Linked DNA regions of Homo sapiens: region 2 is linked to region 1. The links are contacts of gene promoters, found by promoter capture Hi-C in blood cells and fetal thymus (Javierre and others, 2016). All regions are on one chromosome and are shown on one strand. Each heading gives the region's core, a stretch centred on a gene start or on the middle of the fragment in contact. The rest is flanking DNA. Distances are from core to core; before and after follow the strand shown. Region 1 holds the start of KLK13 (kallikrein related peptidase 13). Region 2 overlaps ZNF175 (zinc finger protein 175).

Evidence for each region. The method cuts DNA at HindIII sites, captures the fragments that hold promoters and counts their contacts. A CHiCAGO score of 5 or more calls a contact.
Region 2: a contact is called between a fragment that was not itself captured here and the fragment with the promoter of KLK13 in region 1, in 1 of 17 cell types (neutrophils). The highest score is 5.2, in neutrophils.

The regions. Positions count from the first base shown.
Region 1 is chr19:51,063,391-51,066,779 of GRCh38, forward strand. It overlaps KLK13 (kallikrein related peptidase 13), which reads right to left and starts at 1,702. Exons shown (of 5, transcript NM_015596.3): 1 at 1,626-1,702. The coding sequence starts at 1,677. The HindIII fragment of the contact is 5,030 bases long and covers 1-3,082 here.
Region 2 is chr19:51,572,147-51,575,535 of GRCh38, forward strand. It overlaps ZNF175 (zinc finger protein 175), which reads left to right. Exons shown (of 5, transcript NM_007147.4): 2 at 1,004-1,255. The coding sequence starts at 1,184. Among named protein-coding and RNA genes, the nearest start is that of ZNF175, 2.6 kb to the left of the region's middle. The HindIII fragment of the contact is 1,968 bases long and covers 706-2,673 here.

The DNA of each region.
Region 1 (3,389 bases), core at 452-2,951:
CTAACTTTAAGCAAATGATTAGGTCAAAAGTTATAAAAATGGTTTTCAGAGCCTCAAGTCCAGGATATGGACAGGGAAAACAACCTTGATTAGGATTCTGACTCAGGCATCGCCGGTGTCATTGGAGCAGGAGCCTTCTGTCTTTGAGTCCTAGGTTTCTCTGCCATGAAATTGGAGTAATTACAATGCACCTACCTCGCCAGGTTGTTGAGGACTCCACAAGGCGTAGCGTGTGGGTCTCCTAGCCTAGGGTGTGGCACTCAGGAGTGGCACGGGCATGAATCCAGGGAGTGTCGCCAGAGGAGAAAAGCCACCCCACCTTCAGGCCAAGGATGGTGCCAGGTGCCAGGCACCCACAGATCCCTCCTTTTTCAGGTCTTGGCTCAAGGGTCAAGCCCTTTGGGAAGGCCTCTGGTCGGGAAGCCGCCATTACATCTCTAGGCCCCTGGCTTGGCTCCTTGAAGTCTTCACCTCATGTCAAGATAATTATTAACTAATTATTTGGATAATTGTTTGAATAACATCTGCGTCTGTCCCCGCTAGACTCCAGGTGCTGAGAGCAGGGACTGTGTCTCTGCTTGTACAGCACCCAGCACAGTGGCCGGTGTTTAATAGCTGTTTGTTGAATGAATAAATGATTCATGAACGGGGTTTCCAGAGAACCTGCCTACAACGGCAGGGAAAGATGGGAAAGATCCATAAGGATCTTAAGGACTACCAATTTGGGGTGAGGTCACATAGGTTTGGGGTCAACCCAAGGATTAAAATAACAATCTAGAAGGTTCTGGAAGGGGCTGAGTATGAAGACAGAATACTAGAGGCCGGGCTCGGTGGCTCATGCCTGTAATCCTGGCACTTTGGGAGGCTGACGCGGGCTACTTGAAGTTAGAAGTTCGAGACCAGCCTAACCAACATGGCGAAACCCCGTCTCTGCTGAAAATACAAAAATTAGTTGGGCGTGGTGGCGGGCGCCTGTAATCCCAGCTACTCGGGAGGCTGAGGCAGGAGAATCGCTTCAACCCGGGAGGCGGAGGTTTCAGTAAGCCAAGATCGTGCCACTGCCTTCCAGCCTGGGAGACAGAGCAAGGTTCCATCTCAAAAAAAAAAAAAAAAAAAAAAAGGAATACTACTAATAAAGTAATAACGGCTAAGTGGCTAACTTTCAAGTCCCTTCTACCTGCGACATACTGAAGGCTCGACGCATTACCTCGTTTCAATATTCACAGTGACCTTCTCTGGTAAGCACTTATAGATTAAGCCCATTTTCCAGATGAAAACAATTTAGGCACAAAGCAGCTGCTAGGCTACTGGCTCAAAGCGGCAGCGTCAGGACGCGAACCCATGTCTTTCAGCTTTCCAGAGAGGACAGGAAGCCTTGAACGCGGGAGGGGCTGCTGCGAGGGTATTTTGGGAGGTGAAGGGTCTGGGGTCGGAGGGCCAACCTCAGCCGGGAAACCAGGTCACCCAGGGACAAGCAGGAAGAGCTCTGAGCTGTCCCCACTGGACCCGGCCCCGAGTGGGCGGGGGGCGGAGCTCGCGGCTCCCACGCCCCCTCCCCCTCCGGCCTGACCCCTCCTACCATTGTCCCGAATGGCCGCCGCGCCTCCACCCCCGCGCATTCTTACCTCCTGACAAGGCCAAGGTCAGGGAGGCGATCACTAGGGCCAGGGGCCACATGGCTCCGGGATCGGGAGGGGAGGGCAGGGCGGGCGGGGCCTGAGGAGAAGGTGAAGGGGGTGTTGAGGGCGTGCCCGGAACCTCCGCGTCTGAAACCTCTCTGCTCCTGAATGTCTCCTCGCCTCATTCACTCTTGACAGCCCTGACCCTGGAATCTGCCCCCCGCCTCCAATTCCATCCTTGGTGGGGGTGCAGTGGCGAGGTGGGAGGAACAGTGTGCAACCTCCTGGGGCTCCGGCGTGCAGCCCCTCACCCCAGGAAGCCGTCCCTCCTCCCCTGCCCTCTGGCGAGCTGGGTGGTCGGTGCACTCTCGCCCTTTTCCTCCAGAGTCTGCCTTCCATTCTACCCCTCTGGGTCTGTCCACACGCTTGGTATTAGCCCAAGTTCTTATCTGTCCGCGCCCTTCGCCTCTCTCCGTCTCTGCAGGTTTCTCTCTAGATCTGAGACTCTAGCTTCACTCTCCCTCTCCCTGACTCAGCTGCCCTTCTGCTTTCCCCATCCTTCCTATCCCCTCTTCTCTCCCCTCCCTGCCCTCCTCCGCTCCCCGCCCCCGCCCCAGGCAGACCCTACCTGAGTGAGGGGCCCACGAGGAGCGTCAGCCGCCAGCTGTCTAGAACTTCAGCCCCGAACCATGGCTTTTAACCCCTGAACTCCCTCCCCCAGCTCACTCAGCATTTCCTGGTCCCTGGCCTCCCCCTCTCCACCCCCAGTGGCTCAGCGGGATGTCTCCAGGCACCCCCGACCTGGGCTTGGCCCTCTGCTTGGGGCGGAGCTTCCAGGACGTGCTGGGACCTAGGTCTGACCCCGCCCAAGGCAGAGTTGAACCCACTGTGAACTTTCAGGCCTCAGGACCCAAAAAAGGGTAAGGGGAAAGCCCATTTCCTTCCCCCTACCCCGCTGAGTTCCATGCCCATCCCTAACTTCAACCCATTCTGCACCCAGTTTTCTAACCTCTTCTCCAACCCCATGCATAATTCTTAATAGGCAGTCAGCCCCCAGATGGCCGTGTTCTATCAGATTCCCACCTCCCTATCCATCCCTAACCATACCAAGTACTCCAGCCTGTTCCTCAACCCCAGTCCCATCTCCAACCTCATCTCAGGTTTAGCTCTCAACACATCCAGGTTCCAATTCCCAGTCTCATCTCAACCCTTTTTCTTTTGAAAGACACAAGGACACCCACAATTATCCCATCATCCTGCCTCCCTGCTCCCGCCAACCACCGGACACAAGAAGGAAATCATCAGCTGGGTGGATAGAAAATCAGCTCCCTCGGACTTGGATGGGGGCAGAGATGCGACCTGAGAAAGCAACATTTTCCAGAAATGGCCTTTTAGGAGCAGGGCCAGAGGGGGTGAGGGAGTCCACGGGGACCTAGGTGGAGAGGAAAAAGCAGGAGCCGGAAAGCTTTGAAGACGTGGATTGGGGGTGGGGGAGAGGAAGGAGGAAGGGGTGGTGTTTTGAGAATGAGTAGGTGTCTCCAGGAACTATGACTGGGTGGAGCCCTGAGTTAATCCTAGGGGGTGGAGGGGACAGGATTAGGGATTAAGGACTGAGGTGGGGTCAGAATTTGGAAGAAAGCCAGGGACGTGGACCAGATGAAGTTTGGAAAGAGTGAGAGAGTGGAGGTGTCACAATGAGGATAAAGAATAGAGATGGATGGGGCGAGGGCTCACATGGAAACTTGTACAGTCCTTATTGATGGAGTTCAG
Region 2 (3,389 bases), core at 440-2,939, 510 kb after region 1:
TGTCGTTTTATGGAAACCAGAAAATTGTGCTCGCTGGGAAACATTTCTTGGCTATCAGGGCAGTAAAGATTTCAGAAGCCTGTGCCATGTCAGTGACTGGGAGGCATTTTGGAACTTTCTGGCAGCCCTGTAGTACACTCATTGGGGATTTCTGAAAGTCAGTCCTGTCAGTGATTGCATTCAGGTGCGGTGGGGGCAACTTATTGTGGACAGGCAAGAAATGGTAACTGGAGGCCCTGATGCATGTCTGCAAATTTTCTGTGTCAAGATGGGGATTGGGACAGTGATTTTAAGTTTTAGCTCTAGTCAGAAGAGGCTGGTCTGTGTGTGGTGTATTATGGACGGGGACTGAAAAGTCCAGAAGCTCAGAATAGGTACACCAGACAGAGCCACCTCCCGGCCTGAGTTCTATGAAGGCAACAGAAAGAGGAAATGGTGTTTCTGGAAGCTGGCCACGTATGGGTACATGAGATAGTGGAGACAGTGTACAGTTTAGAACAAGGCAGATGTGGGGCTGATTCCCTGTTTTTCCATTTACAGACTGAGTAACCTTCAGGCAAATTATGTAACAGCACACAGCCTCATTATCCTCATCCTCAAAATGGGTATGATAATGCCCATGATATTTAGCTGACAATTAAATTGACAACTTTCTTTTTTTAATTCATATTTATCACGTGCCAGGCAGGCACTGAGGACTTGACAAGCTTCATCTTGGTTAAGTTTCCCAACATCTGTGATAAATACCTGCATTTTCATTTTGGAAACTACAACTAAAGTAATATTTTCATATTCTCACAGTGAAAATGTGGCAAAGCTGCAATGAATTCACCATTTAGTCCAGACTCAGTCTTTATTTTTAACCCTGACTAATAACTAGAGTTGGGCTTTCTGAACTTTGTCTACTCCAATGTCTGACACAGTGACTTCACCTCAGTGCCCTCAGGAAATATTTGTGGAGTGAATGTTGAATGAGTGACCATGTACTCATTGCTTTTCCAAGGCTTCTGCAGAACCCCCAGGTCAGGCCACATCATTGAGGCTGCAGGATCTCTCTTCATAGCCCAGTACGACTCTCCGCCGTGTCCCTGGTTGGAAAATCCAAACACCTATCCAGCTTCTGGCTCCTGGGAAAAGTGGAGTTGTCAGCAAGAGAGACCGAGAGTAGAAGCCCAGAGTGGAGATGCCTGCTGATGTGAATTTATCCCAGAAGCCTCAGGTCCTGGGTCCAGAGAAGCAGGATGGATCTTGCGAGGTAAACAGGGGCAGCCCTGGGGATAGTTCTCCAGAACGTGAGGGCAGACACAGGATGCAGCAGGTCTGGGCTCCCTGCTCCTGAGTCAGTCTTGAGCCTCCTGTCAAGCGAGGACCACAGAGGCTGATGTTTCCACATTCATAGGCTATCTGTGTTCTAGAGGAAACCATGAACTGGCTGATAAAAGAGGATAGTAGAGGGTTGGCCTTGGGTCAAGAAAGAAGAAACTGTAGTCCCTGGTCTGATCAGAAGCCCCAGTCATAGGATGGAAAAGCTGACTCTTTCCTGCTAAGCACTGGTTCTGCTCCTTCATCCACCACTGGGTCTTTGAAAAATTTCAAGTGGTCCCCCCCACCAAATTCCTTGCTTGGTCCATGGGGTTTGGCCCGTTTTTCCTCTGTTCTCATAAGGTGCGGCAAAATCTCCTTCCTTTGTAATTTAAATAGTCACAGGGAGGTAGAGTGAGAAGAGGCTTTTAAGGACCATGTGAAGAGGCTTTTAAACACTTTTTCCTGTTTAAAAAGGTGAACAAAAAATGCTGGAAAACAGTGTTTCCAGATTGCCCACAGATAGAAATAGTCAGGATTTGGTAACAAGAAATCAGAATTCTTGGTATAGTCAAGATTTCCTGAAATCCTAAATTATTCTGTGTATCTCTTGATGCTTTATTTACAAGTCTTTAAATAGTATGTGACTATAATAGTAAACAGTGTACCATTGTTCTGTGATGGGTTTATAACCAAATTTACAGAGATGTTCTGTTTTTTAAAAAAAGTATAATAAATATGTGTGTTATTATCCTGAACCAATATATTGTGAGATTATATATTTCAGTAACCTGTTAAAATCATCTCAACCTGCTAGAAACATTTGATAATAGAAAGTATTAAAAGAAGGGAACATTAACACAAAATAAATTGCACATATAAATCATTTTCAAAATTGTAAATACCCCAAATATTTAAAAGTCGTTCTTAAAAGAAAAATTGAAACATACAAGTTTAGGTGGGGCACAGTGGCTCATGCACTTTGGGAGGCCGAGGCGGGCGGATCACTTGAGCCCAGGAGTTGGAGACCAGCCTGGGCAACATGGCGAGACTCTACAAAAATACAAAAATTAGCCAGGTGTGGTGGCATGCACCTGTAGTCCCAGCTACTGAGTACGTTGACGTGGGAGGATCACCTGAGCTTGAGGCGGTCAAGGTTGCAGTGAGCTGCAATCATGACACTACACTCCAGCCTGGGCAATAGAGTGAGACCCTGTCTCAAAACAAAACAAGTTTAAAACATGAAATTGTCTAAGTCTTTGTGACAGCAGTGCAGATGCACAAACGTTTCTCTCATTTGCATTGATGTTGGTCAACTTGCGTGTTCAGAACATCTTCAAGTTTAGCGTTTTAGGACACATGTTCAATATAAGCTTTTTTCCTTTTTTAACAATGAAATTTTTTTTCTGCTTGACCTGATTTCCAGTTTATCATTTGAATCAATACTGCTGTCGCTAATTCAGATTTTCCATCAGTGTCTGAATTCATGTCAGAGTATATCCCAGTACCATGCACATTATCTTCTCTTTGTGGTGTGTATTTCCCTCTGCTCTGGACAGTACTATTTTTATTTTGTTATTTTTATCTTTTCTAATGTGATGGAAATAAAGATAGTATAGTGTTTTAATTTGCATTACTTTGTTTACAAACAGGCTTTTTTTTCATAATTTTATTGGTCAATTACTTGTCTTTAGTGAGTTACTTTTTCTTACCTTTTGATTTATATTTTGGTTTGGTTTAGCCTCCGGATTTTTAGAGAGGTTTTTTTTTTTTTTTTTTTTTTTTTGAGACGGAGTCTCGCTCTGAAGCGCAGGCTGGAGTGCAGTGGCGCAATCTCTGCTCACTGCAAGCTGCACCTCCCGGGTTAACGCCGTTCTCCTGCCTTAGCCTCCTGAATAGCTGGGAGTACAGGCGCCTGACAGCACTGCTGGCTAATTTTTTTGTATTTTTAGTAGAGATGAGGTTTCACCATGTTAGCCAAGATGGTCTTGATCTCCTGACCTCGTGATCCGCCTGCCTCAGTGTCCCAAGAGAGTTCTTACACAGTAATAACCTAAGGTCCTTTTTGCATATGTTTGTAAATACTT